Regions from separate parts of the Homo sapiens genome. Here all the other regions are linked to region 7. The links are contacts of gene promoters, found by promoter capture Hi-C in blood cells and fetal thymus (Javierre and others, 2016). All regions are on one chromosome and are shown on one strand. Each heading gives the region's core, a stretch centred on a gene start or on the middle of the fragment in contact. The rest is flanking DNA. Distances are from core to core; before and after follow the strand shown. Region 1 overlaps CLINT1 (clathrin interactor 1). Region 2 has its middle 32 kb from the start of PANK3. Region 3 overlaps DOCK2 (dedicator of cytokinesis 2). Region 4 holds the start of SPDL1 (spindle apparatus coiled-coil protein 1). Region 5 has its middle 5.1 kb from the start of PANK3. Region 6 overlaps PANK3 (pantothenate kinase 3). Region 7 holds the start of NUDCD2 (NudC domain containing 2).

The links. The method cuts DNA at HindIII sites, captures the fragments that hold promoters and counts their contacts. A CHiCAGO score of 5 or more calls a contact.
Region 1: a contact is called between a fragment that was not itself captured here and the fragment with the promoter of NUDCD2 in region 7, in 3 of 17 cell types (total CD8 T cells, activated CD4 T cells and naive CD4 T cells). The highest score is 9.3, in total CD8 T cells.
Region 2: a fragment that was not itself captured here is called in contact with the fragment with the promoter of NUDCD2 in region 7 in 1 of 17 cell types (naive CD8 T cells); the score reaches 9.9 in naive CD8 T cells.
Region 3: a contact is called between a fragment that was not itself captured here and the fragment with the promoter of NUDCD2 in region 7, in 2 of 17 cell types (non-activated CD4 T cells and naive CD4 T cells). The highest score is 6.7, in non-activated CD4 T cells.
Region 4: a contact is called between the fragment with the promoter of SPDL1 here and the fragment with the promoter of NUDCD2 in region 7, in 2 of 17 cell types (total B cells and total CD8 T cells). The highest score is 8.6, in total B cells.
Region 5: a fragment that was not itself captured here is called in contact with the fragment with the promoter of NUDCD2 in region 7 in 4 of 17 cell types (naive CD8 T cells, total CD4 T cells, activated CD4 T cells and 1 more); the score reaches 13.2 in naive CD8 T cells.
Region 6: a fragment that was not itself captured here is called in contact with the fragment with the promoter of NUDCD2 in region 7 in 1 of 17 cell types (total CD8 T cells); the score reaches 7.0 in total CD8 T cells.

Annotation. Positions count from the first base shown.
Region 1 is chr5:157,856,211-157,858,910 of GRCh38, reverse strand. All of the region lies in intron 1 of CLINT1 (clathrin interactor 1), which reads left to right. Among named protein-coding and RNA genes, the nearest start is that of CLINT1, 1.6 kb to the left of the region's middle. RefSeq lists an enhancer at 1-136. The HindIII fragment of the contact is 223 bases long and covers 1,199-1,421 here.
Region 2 is chr5:168,609,752-168,612,465 of GRCh38, reverse strand. No RefSeq gene overlaps it. Among named protein-coding and RNA genes, the nearest start is that of PANK3, 32 kb to the right of the region's middle. The HindIII fragment of the contact is 229 bases long and covers 1,194-1,422 here.
Region 3 is chr5:169,639,352-169,642,051 of GRCh38, reverse strand. The region is part of intron 1 of DOCK2 (dedicator of cytokinesis 2); the gene reads right to left. Among named protein-coding and RNA genes, the nearest start is that of DOCK2, 3.4 kb to the right of the region's middle. The HindIII fragment of the contact is 397 bases long and covers 1,252-1,648 here.
Region 4 is chr5:169,582,455-169,585,154 of GRCh38, reverse strand. It overlaps SPDL1 (spindle apparatus coiled-coil protein 1), which reads right to left and starts at 1,382. Exons shown (of 12, transcript NM_017785.5): 1 at 1,266-1,382. LOC105377714 (a long non-coding RNA gene) reads left to right here and starts at 1,494. Exons shown (of 3, transcript XR_941200.3): 1 at 1,494-1,772. RefSeq lists an enhancer at 755-1,755. The HindIII fragment of the contact is 7,098 bases long and covers 1-2,700 here.
Region 5 is chr5:168,583,146-168,585,845 of GRCh38, reverse strand. No RefSeq gene overlaps it. Among named protein-coding and RNA genes, the nearest start is that of PANK3, 5.1 kb to the right of the region's middle. RefSeq lists a silencer at 1,955-2,004. The HindIII fragment of the contact is 2,467 bases long and covers 89-2,555 here.
Region 6 is chr5:168,566,749-168,569,448 of GRCh38, reverse strand. It overlaps PANK3 (pantothenate kinase 3), which reads left to right. Exons shown (of 7, transcript NM_024594.4): 2 at 451-803. Among named protein-coding and RNA genes, the nearest start is that of MIR103A1, 7.1 kb to the right of the region's middle. The HindIII fragment of the contact is 335 bases long and covers 1,110-1,444 here.
Region 7 is chr5:163,458,836-163,461,535 of GRCh38, reverse strand. It overlaps NUDCD2 (NudC domain containing 2), which reads left to right and starts at 1,434. Exons shown (of 4, transcript NM_145266.6): 1 at 1,434-1,674. The coding sequence starts at 1,486. It overlaps HMMR (hyaluronan mediated motility receptor), which reads right to left and starts at 904. Exons shown (of 18, transcript NM_001142556.2): 1 at 798-904. The coding sequence starts at 843. RefSeq lists enhancers at 658-717, 1,468-1,717 and a silencer at 1,048-1,137. The HindIII fragment of the contact is 3,644 bases long and covers 1-2,163 here.

The DNA of each region.
Region 1 (2,700 bases), core at 61-2,560, 5.6 Mb after region 7:
TGTGGCCGAGGCCCACGTGGGGGAGGGGGGAGGGGGAGAAGGAGCTGGCCTTGGGCTAGGGGTTGCCCACGTCACGCCCCCTGGCTCTGCCAGCCCCATCATGGCGGCGGCCCGCTCCTTCCCGGCCCCGGGCCTCATCCCCGCTGGCGAGGCTGGGGAGGGACCCTCCCTCGTTTTAAAAAAAAACATCCTCTTGGCCACCCTTCTCTCCTTTCCAGGCCTTCCCGTCCCTTCCCCTATTCCAACCCCTGGGTGCCGACGCTTTGGTCATAAGGGGCGGGTTGTTTGGCGCTGGGTCACTGCCCTGGCCGGAGGACTGTCTTGGCCCCAGGCCGTGGGCTTTGCCTCCTGGGGAGCAGGGAAGGTTTGGGGGTGGGGGGCACAATGCACTGGTTCCCTGTGTCCCTCAAGGTGTAGTACGGAGAGACCTTAGACCTGGTTGGGGTGTGTCTTTTATCTTCCTTGCCTCCTCTTAATTCCTAATGAACCTGAAGTGTTGGAGTGGGTGGTAGTAGTGTAACAAGTGGCTATTGTGGTCAGCCTGAAGTTACTCAAGAAGACACTCATCCTTTGCTTTTCTAACACTAGTGAAAGTAGATCACTATATGACTTCTTGCGATTTTTTCTTCTGTTTCTTTTTCCACTACACATCATTTTTGGTGTGCTACTTGTTCCATTCGATTAAATTAAGAGGTCATTAAGAAATGTCCTCTTAAGGAAAAAAACAACCCAGGTTTATATCCTGTTGATCTGCTTTTAAAAGCAGGTAAAACGACCAGTACGTAGTTGATTTCCTTTAAGACTGAAATAACTTTAGTCTCTTACTTGCACAAGGAAAACCTTAACTTTTAAAATGAGTATATCAGGTATAACAGTGGTTAAGTAAGGTCTTCTAGGCCAGCAGGAAATAAAGTTTAAGAATTTAAGCAGTCCTCTTCCTTTGGGGCTTTAATGATTATGCAATAAGTGTGGTGAGAAAAACAGTTGATTTGTGCCACCCACCTAACCTAAAATCAGGAAGTATAGATAGCAAACTGTTTTCTTGACACCAGGAAACAAAGTAATTTCCAGTGCCTTGTCTGATACATCAGATAGAACTTAGAGCTTGACCATATTTTTATATTTTCTGTGCTACCAAGAAGGCAATAGAGTGCCTAAGGAGCACAGGTTTCAGAACCTGCAAAGCTGGGTTCAAGCTTTATAACCTTGGGGAAGTTACTTATCCTCACAGTGCCCTAGTTTTCTCTGGTACAAAATGAAAATGCAACGATACCTACCTTAGAATGTTGTTGTGAGGCTTAAGGGTTAAGGGATTGTATTGCATATAAAGCCCTTAACAGAATATGTTTATATTAGTGTACTTTTGAAACTAGCAAATGTTTTGCATTTAGAGTGAAATAAACCTCTTTAAGAAAGAAGCTTCAAGTTTGAAAAGTGATTTGCTTTAATAATTTTCCTTTATAACAACTCATTTGGCTATTAAGGCTTCAGCTATTTATTTCGGACTATTTAGCTATTTATATATTCTTTGCTTTTGCTTACCGAAGATGAAATAAACTAGATCTTTTCCAGATCTAGGTTCATTGGCATTTTTTTAGTATATTGTGTAAAGATTAGGATATCAACTTAAATAGTTTTTTAAAGGCCAAAAGAAGACTAAAAGCTACCTTTTTTTTTTTTTTTTTTGATGGGGTCTCATTCTTTTGTGTGTTCATAACTCACTGCACCCTCCAACTCCTGGGCTCAAGTGATCCTCCCACCTCAGCCTCCCAAGTGGCCAGGACTACAGGCATGCATCACCGTGCCTGGCACTGCCTCCTTATTTCTCAGTCAGAGGTCAGAAGAATAAAACCATTAAGAAACACCTTGTTCTCTTAGAGGACCAAATTTGTGGTACTCAAAAATTTGAAGAGGCTGTACATTGTTCGTAAGACAGAAATCGAGGCAATATTCCTACTATTGTTGTACCTTTCATATTTGCTTATCACACTTGTTACTAATCTTCACGTGCTTTAGGTTAAATTTGCCATGTAAGTAGTTATCTAAAGGAAAAGCTATTGTTGAAAAATATTATCTATCTTTTTACTACCCAATTTAGGATGTAGACTTGAACCAAATTATTCAAGAACATAGAAGAATGTTGTCACCAAAGACTTTTTAAGGCTTTTGTGGGTGTCTGACACATATTAAGATTAGAACATGAGGTTGATTTACTGATGAGTACTCGGGATTTTAATTTTCATCTTTTCACTGGCAAGAAGAGAAGAAATTCTTCCCCCCAAATGTAAGCATCTTACAGAACCGTGGATCTGTTAGACTGTGCACCTTATAATGCCATAATAGACGTGCATCCATAGAATGGTTGGTCTGATTATCAGAGGTATAAAATGATGAAGGAACTTGCAAATGAAGAAGCAGTGACGTGATTAAGGGCTATTCAGATAGATGGATCAATAGAATGAGGGCTTCTATGAGAGAAAGGTTAGGGGTTTAACTATCTGGTTCATATTCTGGCATTACGTTTTTAATTAGCTGTATGTATGATTTGAGGCAGAATCACATGAATCTCCAGACTTTGCCTTCCTTATCTGTAAAATGAGGGGACCTGGCTAGAGTAAGACTTTTTCCACCTTTGATGGCTATTGGAGAAATGCATTTCCATCAAGGAAAAATAGTTGGAACTAGTTTTTACAATAGCAG
Region 2 (2,714 bases), core at 59-2,558, 5.2 Mb before region 7:
GGAAAGGGAGCCATAATTGCAACCGATTTTTCAACAGGCTTGAAAATTCTTATGAAAAATTATTTTCAATCACGACCTCTCTGCAAAGCCCAGCTATCAATCAAGTGTGAGGGAAGTCCAGCCACCTACTTAGTTATGCAAGATCTCTCAAGCAATCTTTCTTATGGAAGCATGAAGAATGTATAAGGAATGCAGTAACACAGTGGAAGAGAAAATAGAGGGCTAACCCACACATGTGGCAGGTATCAGCTGGCTAGATTCGAGAAAGAAGATGTAGGGAAGCAGAAGAGAGGTCTCTTGGGGGGTGTGGAGAGAGGGGGAAGCATGGAATTGATAATCTGATGTCTTCGAACATTTATAAATCTTCTTGATAGGCATTTGACAAATCTGTGGAAACACTGGGAACAAAAAGCAGTAAGTACCTTGAAAACTGAGCAAATGCCAAAAATCGAAGCACCTCGTTAACGAGAAAGAAAAGCTAATTACAAAAGAAAAAAGAGGGCCAAGTGCGGTCGTTCACACCTGTAATCCTAACAACTCAGGAGGCTGAGGCTAGAGGATCACTTGAGCCCAGAAGTTCAAGGCTGTGGTGAGCTATGATCACACCACTGCAAAAAAGTGTCATAACACACTTATTGACTGAATAAAGGGAATATTTATCTAGTTCGTGTAATGCAATCTCTAGTGACTTAACAAAAATGATGTATACCTAGAATATGAACTTTATGACAGCTGAGATCTTGCCCTATTCCCTTCTATATCCAAGTATTTCAAAGGTCAGTATAGGGCATATTAATTTTTTTCTTTTAATTATAGCATTTGAGTCCAGAATTTTCAATAAAAGGTAACAGAGCTTTTCTTTAAGAGCTCTACTGTGAGAAAACATTAGACATTCTGGGGACATACAGAAAACTAGCTGGTGAGAAGCAGCCCACCATTCTCCCTGGCATTTCATCTATAGGAGAATATGTTGCTCCCACAGATTGTCCCCAACGTCAATTTCCTCTCGTGGCGTCCCAGCCCTGAATATTCACAACTGGGTCACTTTGTACTTATGCTATGCCTGTTAGAATAATTCACTGAACTTGAAGCGATGTCAGTCATCAGGAATGCTGTGAATGTCCTAGTGAAAATTTCTTTTCTAAGGCACACTTGTTCATGGCTTTAGCCTATCTTAACAGACAAGAAAAGCTTCTAAGGTTCTTGGGCCCCAGAGTCTGCATCATTCGGTTCTATAAGTTTTTATTCTCCATACAGCTGTAGATCTCGAATTGCTCACAACGCAGAAGATCCTTTATCCCAATTGTCTTTAACTTTTTGCTTCCTGATTACCGACATCAGAAACAAAAACCACAGAATTTTTAGAAAACGTAAAATAGAAAAACAATCCTTCCTAATAACCAGAGATGACACTCCTAAGCTTTTTCTTTTTCTAAGTGATTTTTTTTCTTCTCACCACTGAGATAGTAATATCTCAATATGACTAAGAAGCCACTGTAGGTGTCTAGTTTATTAACCATACAAAATAAATATTTTCTCACTCATTAAAAAAACTCTTAGGACCTGTAATCCCAGCACTTTGGGAAGCTGAGGCAGGCGGATCACTTGAGGTCAGGAATTCAAGACCAGCCTGGCCAACATGGTGAAACCCCATCTCTACTAAAAATACAAAAATTAGCCAGGCATGGTGGCGGGCACCTGTAATTCCAGCTACTCAGGAGGCTGAGGCAGGAGAATTGCTGGGCAATAGAACGAGACTTTGTCAAAAAAAAAAAAAAAAAGAAAGAAAAAGAAAAACCTCTCAGGAACAGTATGAAAGATTTTCAAAAATTATTCCCTTTAGGGGAGATTTATAGCTGATAGGTAAACACCTTTTTATAAAAGTGGTAACAGATTCCATATTTCTCTAAGAAGCCCTCTCACAGGGCCTTTCCTTGGCTTTTTGACTCTAGGAAAGTGCATGTGATATAGTGGGGTGCTGCTTATGATCTGGGGCTCTGTACTCAGGCCAACTTCCATCCTAATCCCAGCATGCCTCTTACTAGCTAGTGACTTCAGAAGTTTCCTTCTCTGTGACTCACTTTCCTTATCTGTAAAATAGGGATGATTATATCTCCCTCACTGGGTTATTAAGAAGATTAAAAGAAATATGGCATGTCAAGTGGTAGCCCCTTGCCTAGAAAAGAATAAGTGCTCAATGAGTACTAGCTGCCGTCATCTTCCCTCCTTTCATCATCGTCAAAATTAAGGATTAGGAGAAGCAGACATTCCTAAGGATTGGTTACATCTCCTGCTGTTAAGATGGCAGCTCCAAGCCTCTTGTCTGTTTATTTCATCCTGCATATTTCTGTTCCAATTAATACATAGCTTCTTGGAATGCAGGAGGATTGTGCCTTCTAAAGTGAGCATTTAATGAATGCTCTCATTCATTCTGTGCCCTACCTTCCTATCCTTGAGAAACTTAAAAGGCTAATTGACAGCTTTGGCCTCAAGCCACATGTGAGTAAATAGAGGCGTGGGCTAAATATGTAGTTGTAAAATGAGAAGAAGAAAGATAATTGGCATTAATTGAGTGCCAACTGTGAGCTATAACCTGGGCTAGATGTTTTACTCACCAAAATTCTGCAATACAGATGTAAGACTCTTTCTTGGTAGATGAGAACACCTTGGCTCAGAGAAGGGAAGTAAGTTGCCCATAGTCACAGAGCCAGAAA
Region 3 (2,700 bases), core at 201-2,700, 6.2 Mb before region 7:
GCTCCTGCTAGAGGAGTAGCAAGCCATGTGACCCCACCTCATAGTCACAGAGAATTAGACCTGCCAGGGGCAGCACCCTCACCAGAGTGAGGCCCATTATTAGGCTGGCAATGAACTCTGACTTGGGTTGTCTTTCTTACAAAGGGAAATCAAGCTACCACTCTCTTCTGTTGGGACTTTGAACAAATAAACACAGAGAAGATTCAGTGGATGCTTGAACTGCAAGGTTGTGCAGAGATGGGTGGGTTGCATGCTGGGGCCACCACTGTGGTATTAGAGTATCAGTTACGAAGGAACAATGCAATCAGAGGGAGGTGGTGGGGAGAGAAAGGAGACCACAGTTGGCATGCTCAGAGAAGCTGAGAAGCCATGAGAGGAGAGGCAGAGGTTTCCAGGGTTGCCTCAGTTCAAGCCCTTTCCGAGGCCTGGCTCCTCCTGTTTCCTGGATTTCCATGTGATTCCTCTGACCCTAAAATACACCACTTCTCCCTGCTCTCCCACAGATACACACCACACACATTTTCGTTGAACTGGTTTGACTAGATTTTGTTCCCTTCAACAAAAATCCATGTGCAAATGACACCAGCACACATTGCCCACGCCAAATCTGTCAGTGTGCATGGATCAGCTCTGTCCAGGGTCCTGGGCTGCGACAGCATCACCCACATCCCTGAACCACGAGCTGGTTATGGATTCCTCCATATTCCCCAACCAAGCTGTGAAAAAGATCCCTTCTCTGCTTCTGCAGAGCCTGTTATGGTTTGAATTGTGCCCTCCCCCTCCAAAAAAAGAGACGTTGGAGTCTCAACTCCCAGTACCTCAGAATGTGATCTTATTTGGAGACAGTCTTTACAGAGGTAATCACATTTAACTGAAGTCACTAGGGTGGGCCCTAATCTAATATGACTGGATGTCCTTTTTAAAAGGAGAAATGCGGAGACAGACACGCACACAATGAGAATACCACGTGAAGTTGGAGGCAGCGATCAAGGCAACGCTTTTGTAAGCCAAGGAATGCCGAGGATTGCCAGCAAACCACTGGCAGCTGGGGGAGACACCTGGAACAGATTTTCCCTCAGCCCTCAGAAGAAACCAACAAATATTCCTCAACACCACACATGGGTGTAAAACCATAGCTAGAGAGAAGCTGCATACAGAACAGGTTTCTGATCAAAATATGCCACTTCCATAGGGCATATTGATTATTTTGAGCTGGATGCAAATAAGAATCAACAGGTACAGCAAGAAGCTTTCCTGGATATTTATCTGAAGAAACTCCTAAGAAATAAGGACTGTCATAAATCCCCTCTCCCAGGGAAGTTTTATGGCAATGAAGAAGACAGAAAGTTGGCTCCAAGATGAACCTGCACAAATAACCCTTTATCTTCCATTAGATTCCCCATATATTTCCCTTCCCACAGTTTGCTGCCCTTGGAGGCCTAAAACCCTCCTTTGACTTGCTACTTCTCTAAACCTTTATTGTACCTTTGCTAAGATGCTGTATAAGCTCAAGTTCAAACCAACCCTTTGAGTACTCCATATGTAAGCAGGATGTACATGCTAATAAACTTGTTTGTTTTCTCTTGTTCATCAGTCTTTTGTTAGTCTAATTTACAGAAAACCCAAGATGCAGTAGCAGAAAGAAGCTTTTCCCTCCCCTACAAGAATAACTAGAGTCCCACACAAATCTGCCTGGCAGGCTCAGCTTCAGGGTAAACAAAACTCTTTTCTACCCTCACCCTTTATCTCAGGACTCCTGCCTTGAAGCCCTCTTTATAGTCCCAAAATACCATGCCAGAGACCACAGATTATTTGTCATGAATTTGTGTCCCCACCAAAATTCTTATGCTGAAGTCCCAGTCATCAGTGTCTCAGAAGGTACTCCTATTTGGAGATAAGTGCATATTCGGAGATAAAGGAATTATTAAGTTAAAATGAGTCCTTTAGGGTGGGATGCTAATCCAATATGACCGGTGTTCTCATGACAGGAGGAAGAGACAGCAAGGGTGTGCCTGCACAGAAAGCAATGAAGAGGCAGCAAGACAGCCATCTGCAAACCATGGAGATAGGCCATGAGACAAGCCAACCCTGGTGGTGCTTTGATCTTAGACTTCCAGCCTCGAGAACTGTGAGAAAATACATTTCTGTTGTTTAAGCCACCCAGTTGGTGGTATTTTGCTACAGCAGCCTGAGCAAACTAATATATCATCCTCAATATTCTTCCTCCTCTCCTTACTTATGAAGAGAACTCCTAATTTTTAGCTGGGTACATGGCTGCCTACATTACAGACTACATTTCCTAGCTTCCCTTGCAGCTATAGTCAGTCATGTGATTACATTTTTGCCAATAGGATGTAATGTAAGAAGAAATGTCAAGTGTGCCTTCAGGAAAATGTCTTTAAAGGGAAAAGCCATGACCTTCTTTTTCCCTGCATCCTTTTTGCTGGCTGGAAGGTGGACCTGATCACCGAAGCTTAAGCAGCCTATGTGGCTCAGGAGGCAGAAGTCACATGCCAAGGATACAGTGTGAGATATAGAATGAGCCACCTTACCACCTCTTCCCAGACCATTTCTGAGCTTTCCATGAGAGACAGAAATAAACTTGCAGCTTGGTTAGGCCACAATTTTGGAGGTTTTCTGTCACCCTTTGTCACACTTAACCCTAACTGATACTGTTAGTTTCTCTTTCTACCTCCTTCT
Region 4 (2,700 bases), core at 133-2,632, 6.1 Mb before region 7:
TTTTCAGCAGAGGTCTAATGGATGAGAAAGAGTTAACCTATCAATCTACAAAGAGAGATAGCCGTGGTTGATTAAAAACTACTAATGTGTGACAGACATTGTGCTTGGTGCTTTATACACATTCTTTTTTTTTTTTTTGAGACGGAGTCTCGCTCTGTCGCCCAGGCCAGACTGCGGACTGCAGTGGCGCAATCTCGGCTCACTGCAAGCTCCGCTTCCCGGGTTCACGCCATTCTCCTGCCTCAGCCTCCCGAGTAGCTGGGATTACAGGCGTGAGCCACCGCACCCGGCCGCTTTATACACATTCTTATTCAATCTTCTCAACAACTTCAAGAGGTTGAAGGTATTTCCCTCATTTTACACATGCAAGCTGAGGCATAGAAAGTTTTAAGTAACTTGCTTAGGGTTACCCGCAAGTTAAGACGCGAAGTGTGATGGGAACTAGAATCTACCTAGAAACCATGGTGCTGCAACCATTTTTCCTGTCCTGCTTCTCAAAAATATAGCACACACAAAGCATTTGGGACACAGGAAACTCTGGGAATCAAACTGCCTGAGTTCTTACCCCGCCTCCACTACTCACTGGCTGCATGAACTTGGACAAGTTATTTAATTTCTGGTTTAATCATCTATAAAAACAAGCACAATAACACCCACCTAATCGGTTACTGAAAGGATTAAATGAGATAACGAATGAAAAGCAATTAGGGTAGAATCTGACACACGGCTGGGGCAGTGCTGTCCAGCAGAAATATAACGCGAGTCATGTACGTGATTTTAAATGTTCTAGGAGCCATCATGATTTAAAAAGTAAACAAAGATGAAAAATTAATTTACATATTTAAACAAATACACTCAAAACATCATTTCAACATGTAATCATTATAAAAATTATTAATGAGATATTACTCCTTATGCGCTATCTCTGAAACCCAATATGTATCTCCCATCTGCACCATTTCTTAGTTCGGGCTAGAGGCTACCGTACCGCACAGCGCAGATCCAGTGGCGGTTATAATTTTGAGGACCCGGCAACCGACCCAACGTTCCATATTTGTCCAGAATCCCTGAGGGCGGCGAGGTGGTCCAGCGGAAGATAAGACCGGCTCGGAACCCAGTGTATAAGACCCCAGGGTTCCGGGGAAGGAGATGTTTCAGCTAAAGGCCTCGGCCGAGACCCCGGCCCCTAGCTTTCTTTAGGGCCTGTTCGACTCTCCCCACTGCCGCTCTCCACACCCACCTCCCACCAGGCCCCTTGCCCCTACCTCTCACGCTAGTCCCCTGCTGCCGCAGCCAGCGGCTCCTAATGGGAGCTCAGGGCGTCCACATTGAGGACGCTAACTCCACAGTCGCCGGCCCATTCGCTCAGCTAGCTCTCGAGTAAGCGCCTGGGATATTTGAATGCAGTTCCCGCGAGAAGTCCCACGTCTCACGAGACGTCCGCCCAAGCCGCGCGGAAAGGAAAAACCAAGAGAAACGCCCAATGGAGCGCCCACCCCCTCCTACAGCTACTGCGCATGTGCAAGTGGCGCGCCGTGGGCTTGGCGCAGGCGCAGGCGCAGACGTGGCTCCACATAAATTTTTCCTTGGGCTGGTTTCCTGCATGTCTTTTAAGTATTTGCTTTTAGTTTCCGTGTTTTGGTGTTTTGTTTGTTCGTTTTTTTTTTTTTTTTGTTTTTACGACAATGCCTTCTAGGGGAACAGTGTCGCTGGGCTGGGCGGTGGAGAGACACCTTTGGCACCATCGTGCGATCTCATGCACCCTACCAGTGGTAATACTGGCGTTAATATTTAAGTTCCCACCATGTGTTAAAGTTTACAGATTATCTCAGTTAAGCCCGCAGCCTTATGAGGCAGATATTACTCCTCGTTTTCTACAGAGAAAAAGCCCGAAGAAAAAAAGTGCCTTGTCCAAGTGGTAGAACTAGAATTGAATGCAGTCTTAGAGTCCAAGCTGTTTGCATGTGTTTTTAATAATAATATTTTGTAACCCTGATGCCTATTCAAAAATTGAAGCGATCAGAAATAATAATAGATAACATTTAATGAGCACTGATGAGTCCTAGTAACTGTTACATGAATCATGTCGTTCTTTCGAGCCCATCTTTTCTTGCCTATTTGAGAACTTGGCTCTAACTGCTCTTTTTTGCATCTTCAGTTTTTTCTTCTCTATTGGATCTTCCCTATCAGTTCATAAACATGCTGCAGTGATTGCCATAAAATCATTTCATGATTTCATTTTTTAAAAAATCCTCCTTGACACCAATCGGCAACCACCCCATTTGTTTTCTTCTCTTTATAACAAAATTTCTGGGGAAAAAAAATCTTTACATCCATTATCTCCATTTTCTTACCTTTTGTTCTTTTGTTTGTTTTTCCCACTTTAACCAGGATTTGGTCCCAACCAATACTATGAAGTGGCTCTTGTTAGGTTTACCAGTGATTCCTACCTTGCAAAATTCGGTAGTCAATATTTAGTCCTCACTTCTGGTGAAATTTGACAGAGTTGCTTGCTCTCATTGATTTGAGTCTTTATGTCTTGGGATGCCACACTCTCCTTGCCCTCTTCTTCTCAGTTTCTTTTGCAGACTACAATTTCTGCCTGAGCTAAGCCAGACTCAAAGGGTTGATCTGAGCTTTAAGATTGGCAACAAATTGCTCACAGTGTTGTCTCACAGATTTATCTGGGACTCCAATGAA
Region 5 (2,700 bases), core at 73-2,572, 5.1 Mb before region 7:
CCTAGCTTATTTGAGTTTGTGGATCCAATGACTGACTGAAGTATGTTCTTGACCATTTAATTAGAGACAGAATCCGCTGTTAAAAGCTTCATCTGGGCTTTGAAGGGTGTGTAGGGTGTGAGTGTATGTGTGTGTGTGTGCATGTGTGCATGTGTGCGTGTGTGCGCATGTGTGTGTGTGTGTTTATTCATACCAGGAGACCTATAGTCATCATTAGGTACAACTCACCACCTGTCTCTGTGGATACCCGCTCAGTAAAGGCAAAATGAAGATGTGTCAGGTCTCCTCTATCATTTTGCATGATGGGCTGGATTTATTGTGTTTCATAGACAATAAATATTGAGACAAGAAGACAGTCTCTTGGCCCCTTTAGATGCTTTTCCCAGCTCCTGCATTCACTCTGCCAGGAATGGGTTTTGAGGACATGCTAGAAAAGAGAGAAAATGCAATTAACCAGATGGTGCTAGGAGGAGGGACTGGGGCTGAAAGCCAACGCAGGCTGCAGAAGGAAGAGTGGCCACAAACTAAAACAGGATGACCTGTCAGTTTCAATCACACTGGTGAAAACTTTAGGAAACACATGGCTGAACACATTTCACATTGGTCCTGAAAAGGGAACAGGTTCTTAGTGAACTGAACACACTTCACATTGGTCCTGAAAAGGGAACAGGTTCTTAGTGAAATTCAAAAAGTAGAGATGAAAGAAATCTCTGGGCTGGGCACCATGGCTCATGCCAGGGTGAGCAAAACTCTGTCTCAAAAAAATAAAAATAAAAAAACCAGGCACAGTGGCTCATGCCTGTAATCCCAGCACTTTGGGAAGCCAAGGCAGGCAGATCACCTGAGGTTAGGAGTTTGAGACCAGCCTGGCCAGCAAGGTGAAACCCCGTCGCTACTAAAAATACAAAAATTAGGGAGGCGTGGTGGCAGGCAACTGCAGTCCCAGCTACGCAGGAGGCTGCAGCAGGAGAATCGCTTGAACCTGGGAGGCAGATATTAGGCCGGGCACAGTGGCTTACGCCAGTAATCCCAGTAATCCCAGCACTTTGGGAGGCTGAGGCGGGCGGATCACAAGGTCAGGAGATCGAGACCAGCCTGGCTAACACGGTGAAACCCCACCTCTACTAAGAATACAAAAAATTAGCCAGGCATGGTGGTGGGTGCCTGTAGTCCCAGCTACTGGGGAGGCTGAGGTAGGAGAATGGCGTGAACCCGAGAGGCGGAGCTTGCAGTGAGCACAGATCATGCCACTGCACTCCAGCCTGGGCGACACAGCGAGACTCCGTCTCAAAAAGAGAAAAAAAAAATCTCCAACAGTCATCTCATTTTGCAGATGGGTAATTTGAAGCCCAGAGAGAAAAAGGACTTTCCCAGGGTCACACAGCAATTGTATGGCTGATCTGAGACAGGAATTCTCACTATTCAAAGTTCAGTGATTTTCTGGCATAACAGACCAAAGAGTAGTCTCATCTTTGAACAAACAGCAAATAGATGGTTAACTCTAGTAATATCACAGGTGTATAGCCTAACTTTTAAGCTAAGTCATCCATGTGTACACTCATCTCTATGGCCACAGAAACTAGCAAGAGCCTGTGCCCAAAACTTACCCAAATTTCTGTGGCTTCTAATTTCTAGCTCTTCTTCCTTTCAGACCATGGCCAGACTATCACAAGACATACGTATCAATTCCCCTTTGACTTCCAAGCTGATACTGTCAAAGAGAACCAGAAACAACCAAAAGATATATGTTGTCAGAGAACTTGGTGTGCCCATAAGATTTATAAAAGCAGCAGGTAAATCATATTAGATAGTGAGTATTCTTTGAAGCCATGTCAGATCAGAAATCACGACTCTCATCCAATAAAACTGTGGAAAACAGGACCATTCTAGAATATCTAAGGTTCTGTGTGGGATAGAGTAATAACAGGAAATAAAAGAGGAAGTGCAGGTTAAGTCTACCATTCAGGATTCTAACTTGCCAAGTCATATTCCTGGTAGCTCAGAAAGATGTTTCTATAAAAAACAAAACAAAACAAAACAAATAAAGGCCAGGCAAGGTGGCTCATGCCTGTAACCCCAACACTTTGGGAGGTGAAGGTGGGAGGATGGCTTGAAGCCAAGAGTTTGAGACCAGCCTGGGCAACAAAGTGAGAACCCATCTCTACAAAAAATTAAAAAATAAAAAAATTAGCCGGGTGTTTTGGTCCATGCCTATGGTCCCAGCTACTCGGGAGGCTGAGGCAGGAGGATCCCTTGAGCCCAGGAGTTGGAGACTGCAGTGAGCAATGATCATGCCACTACACTTCAGTTTGGGTGACAGAGTGAGATCTCGCCACTACACTTCAGCTCAGGTGACAGAGTGAGACCTCGTCCCTAAAAAAAAATTTTCTAAACAACAAACATAAAATCTGGAATCAAAATAGTAAATCAAACATAAAATCTAGAATCAAAATCTGGTCTGATTGGTGCCATGTGGTTCCTTATCTTTTACCTAATTAGACCTATGGTCTGATCCCAAATAATGACCTTAGGCAAAATGTCTAAATACAAAAGCTTTCTTCCTTTACTTTACAATAAGAATAACAATCCAAGGCCACGGCAGGTGGATCACTTGAGGTCAGGAGTTCGAGACCAGCCTGGTCAACATGGCAAAACCCCATCTCTGCTAAAAATACAAAAATTAGCCAGGCGTGGTGGCAC
Region 6 (2,700 bases), core at 28-2,527, 5.1 Mb before region 7:
AGGCAGAGGCAGGCGGATCACAAGGTCAGGAGATCGAGACCATCCTGGCTAACACGGTGAAACCCCGTCTCTACTAAAAATACAAAAAAAAAAAAAATTAGGCAGGCGTGGTGGTGGGCACCTGTAGTCCCAGCTACTCGGGAGGCTGAGGCAGGAGAATGGCGTGAACCCGGGAGGCGGAGTTTGCAGTGAGCCAAGATCGCGCCACTGCACTCCAGCCTGGGCAACAGAGCGAGACTCCATCTCAAAAAAAAAAAAAAAAAAAAAACTTTGAAGGGAAAAAGGTAAGTTCCACATGGAACATGTGTCTTACCCAATACATATTATTGCCTGAATGCATGATTCAGAGTAAATGAAGTTTGTGGCTAACTGGTTTTTAATTTGTGTTTCTAAAATGGATATATATATATATATATATTTTTTTTTTTTTTTTTTTTTTTCCTCCCATAGCTTTCCCATGGTTTGGCATGGACATTGGGGGAACTCTAGTAAAGCTCTCGTACTTTGAACCTATTGATATCACAGCAGAGGAAGAGCAAGAAGAAGTTGAGAGTTTAAAAAGTATTCGGAAATATTTGACTTCTAACGTGGCATATGGATCCACCGGCATTCGGGATGTACACCTTGAACTGAAAGATTTAACACTTTTTGGCCGAAGAGGGAACTTGCACTTTATCAGGTTTCCAACCCAGGACCTGCCTACTTTTATCCAAATGGGAAGAGATAAAAACTTCTCAACATTGCAGACGGTGCTATGTGCTACAGGAGGTGGTGCTTACAAGTTTGAAAAAGATTTTCGCACAGTAGGTATCTTTTACTCAAAACTGAAAATTGATACCTGTTTTTAAATATGAGAGTAGGTTTCCATCTAGCATGTTCCTTAATTCTCCCTGCACATGCAGTGGGAAATATGTATCCATGGTTGCCTTTCACTTGGGGCGTTTTAAACACGTTTATGAGATGAGTAAAAATTGCCCGGATTTGGTCATGTTGTTGCACATAATATTTGGTAAAACTTGTTTAGGGCTGTACTACAAAGCTACAATAAAAAGGGGATTTGGGGACTTTAATGAATTTGGCAGTGTACAAAGCCAGATATAAATGAAGCTTGAATTATTTTCACTATTGTCCTACATTTACATGGTTTTTGGAATATTACTTATTCAAATAATATTAATCTTCCAGGGCCATCTCCTTCCCAAACCCTAAGTCTGGAAACCAATGTCTTTTGGTTAGTATAATGGACACCTGAATGAAAATCTGTTACCCTTTTTTTTCTGTTTTTATGCTGTTAATCCTGCCATGTTCCTGTGTCAAATGGGGTGATTTGAATGGATCTGGCAGGAGAACTATGAGTATTGGTTTGAGTTATGTGCTGTTAGCAGTTTGCCATCTTCTAGTCTTTTCCATTAGAATGAGAGTTCAAAGAGTGGTTTGCCAAGCTTCTAGTCTTTTCTATTAGAATAAAGAATGGCTCTGTTTAGGACCACTGAAATTTGTTTTTCTTGAAAATGTAAATGTGAATAATTTAATTTCTGAAAATCATAAGAAAATACTGTTAATGGAATATAAAGGCTGACGTGGGAGGATCACTTGAGGCTAGGAGTTGGAGACCAGCCTGGGCAATATAGTGGGACCCCGTCTCTACAAAAAATAAAAAAATTAGCTCAGCATAGTGGCCTGTGCTTGTAGTCCCAGCCACTCAAGAGGCTGATGAAGTGGGAGGATTGCTTGAGCTCTTGAGATTGAGGCTGCAGTGAGCTGTGATTGAGCCATTGCACTCCAGCATGGGTGACAGTGAGACCCTGTCTCAGAAGGAATATAAATAACTTAAATGGCTCATAGAAGCGAGACCCATATAATTTGAGGTAAAGATCTGTAGTACTGTATGAAAAGAGGTGCCTTGGGAACACAGAGGAGTAACAACAGCTAGAGAGTTGAAGAGGTTCCCAGAGGAAGTGATATCTAAGCTGCAATGTTTTATAAACGGTGTCTTATAATACGCTTTTTACTAACCTGAAATGATGAATGTAATCATTTCAAACTAGTACTCAAACTATAATATAAAGACAGGAGATTAAGGTATCAGTTATTAATCAGAAATTAATCTATCCGTGGGTAGATTAACAAACAGTATGATCATTCCAGAGGACATCATGAAGTAGTTATATGCTTGCACCTATGCATAGATTGATCATGAATACCAAAGCTACACATGCCAGATTGATATGGTATGTTCTGTTGGAAAATAAGATACCATAAATGGCATTGCTGTTGGTGACATGACCCTCCAACATGCTAAACAAACACTTGGTAAAATTCCAAACAGTAAGAAGTACAATTTTCCCTTGCTTTATGTGGTGGTTCAATTCCTAGCAAATTTAGTATATATTTAAAACTACGTGGGTTGGGCACAGTGGCTCACGCCTGTAATTCCAGCACTTTGGGAAGCCAAGGTGGGCGGATCACTTGAGGTTAGGAGCTGGAGACCAGCCTGACCAATGATGGTGAAACCTCATCTCTACTAAAAATACAAAAATTAGCCAGGCGTGGTGGCGGGCGCCTGCAATCCCAGCTACTTGAGAGGCTGAGGCGGAGAATCGCTTGAACCCACGAGGTGGAGGTTGCAGTGAGCCGAGATCATGCCACTGTACTCCAGCCTGAGTGACAGAGCTAGACTCTGTCTCAAAAATGAATGAA
Region 7 (2,700 bases), core at 185-2,684:
GGCGTGAGCCGCCGCGCCCGGCCGCATACAGCATCTTAAATGATGAGTGCCTACCAAACACAGCTAAGGCTTCCTGGTTACTGTGCTGTGCATTGCGGTGTTAAGAGCACACGATGGGGGCTGGGTTCATATTCCAGTCCGGTCACTTTGGTAATGTAGCACTGAGCAAATTTAAGTCTCAGTCTTTTTATCAATAAAATAATAATAGGATTACCCCTTAGAGTTGGTGGGAAATTAACATAACTAATAATCGATGTAAAGCCTTAGTACGGTGCTTGAGGTATAAGTGGTCAATATCAGCCATAACTTCATTGTTTATGTTTTCAATAAGTGCTGCTGCTCTAATTTTACACCCATAAACTGCCTTTACTAATCTTCCTTCTTTTATGCCCAAATGGAATACACAAAAGAAATGCACAAGTTCAGACTACAAGTAATACTCCAGTGTTCTTATCAGTGAGGCCCTCTCGGACTTGAAAATCAAGTAGCTACCAACGTCTCGGGTCCATTCCCTTCGCCCTGCTGTAGTTTCTCCATTACCGCTGTTTATTGACAGTATTCCCCGCCTGAATGTAAGCCCCACGGGGCGGAGACTGTTTCACTGCGGTATCCTTAGCATCCTGATTAGTGCTTGGCATGTAACAGATGCTTAGAGCATATTTGAGAAAAATCAATCAACTGAATGAGCCCCAGCCCGACCCTAAAATCGCCTCCTGCTTGCCTCCCAAGAAGGGAGCTGAAAGAGGCAAAGGGCGTTAGGGCGTCTCCCGTCCCCCAGCTCTTTCCCCCTTACGCACCAGAAGGGTCATTGAATCGTTTCAAGGGCGCCTTAGGAAAGGACATGTTGACGGCCAGCTCCAGAAACTGAAGGTGACTGGCACTCCTCGACAACTGAATGCGGATTATCACTCCCTACCGGTTTCAAATTCAAATCTCCCCACATTCCCCACCCACCCCGGCGTTAGCCAATTGGAAAGCCAAACCCCTGGGCACACCAATCCCGCACAGGAACACGAAGAAAGAATGCTGGGTTCTGATTGCGTCCAATTAGCTGGCCTGCGAGTTTAGGCTGCCATCCAATAGGAGACCGTTACTGTTCCCCGCCCCACCCACCCAGTCATTCCCGGAGTTACTCAAGTGTAACCTAGCATTTGCGCAAGCGCACTTCCCTCCGGAGACGTTAGAAAGTGCATTTTGGCGTCACTTAGGGGACGGTGTAGTGAGTTCCGGCTTCACTGGTTCCAATTCTGTCCCATTGTTCGTTGCATGTGAACTTTTCTGGATTTCAGTTCTTTCATCCGGGGCCTGCCGGTGCCGTAAACGGCCATTCAAAGGGAAAAACGAACACGCACACCAAAGCGCTAGCTTGCGTTCCTGCGCATGCGCAGTGACCCGAGCGGAGAGGCCGAGGCGTAGCCTAAGCGTGGGATTCCGCGCGTGCGCTCGGCTCCGCCTGGTGCGGCCGCGGCCGGGAGGGACTGGATTATGTCGGCCCCGTTTGAGGAGCGGAGTGGGGTGGTACCGTGCGGGACCCCGTGGGGCCAGTGGTACCAGACCTTGGAGGAGGTGTTCATTGAAGTTCAGGTGCCGCCAGGCACGCGCGCCCAGGATATCCAGTGCGGCCTCCAGAGCCGGCATGTGGCGCTGTCGGTGGGCGGCCGCGAGATCCTCAAGGTAGCGGCAGCTCGGGGCTTGTGTTCAGTTTCCTCTTCCCAGACGCCCCCAGCCCCGTTTCCCTGAACGACTGTTGGGTGTCCCGACGGCTCCTGTGGCTGGCAGAAAGAGAAAGAGGATAACACTGACCAGGTTTGGGTCTGGTCAGAGCCCCCGCCTCTTCAGGGCAGGTGCTGAGTTGTGGAAATTTGAGGAGCCTATTTTCGTGTTTAGTTTTCAAACTAAGACTGCTGCTTCTGCTTCTCTGACGGGCTTCAGCTGGGAACAGATTAACTAGGTTGCTAAAGGAACAAATATTTCTTCCGTGCACTGAAGACAGGCAGGAAGACAACAGATAACGTACCTGCAGTGGAGAGGTTAAGCTCCTGTACGGAAGCGTAATTCATAAATAGATAAATATAGGAAAGGACAACAAAGAAAATAGGGATAGAATAACGGGCAGAGAATTTAGAGATGATGTCAGGTGATTAGTTTTCTCATCTAAAAGCTTGAAAATCCTGCATGTTTGTGGAGTGGTCAAGCAGGTGGTGAAGAGGTGTGTGCATAAAATAAGTAGTACTCCTTTTATTTCTTTTCACCAATGCTCTTTGGATCTGGACCCGCTTTTTCTTTGTTAAGTGTATAATTAAACTAACAGGTTGAAATTAGATTTAGTTCTCAGGTTAGATGCCCAAGATGTTTGATGGCAGTGTAATATGGTGAAGGGAGACTACTTGTTTCCTAGTTTTGTAAACTTGGGCGAGAGATTGTTCAGTGTCTCTATATCTTCCTTATCCACAAGATAAGGTAGTTATAGTACCCTTCTCATGGGATTGTTTTGAGCTTAACATGGTATTCACGTGTATGAAGAGCTTGGAGTATTCACTGGTATGTAATAAGTTCATACTATATGTTAGCTATTAGCTATTATATATATTACAGTATATGGAGGTGCTTTGAGTGCCTCAAGATTCGTGTGAAAGACATTATGTCAGCTTGGATCTCAGTTACTTTTCTGAATTGTACAATTCATAGTTTCCTCAACAA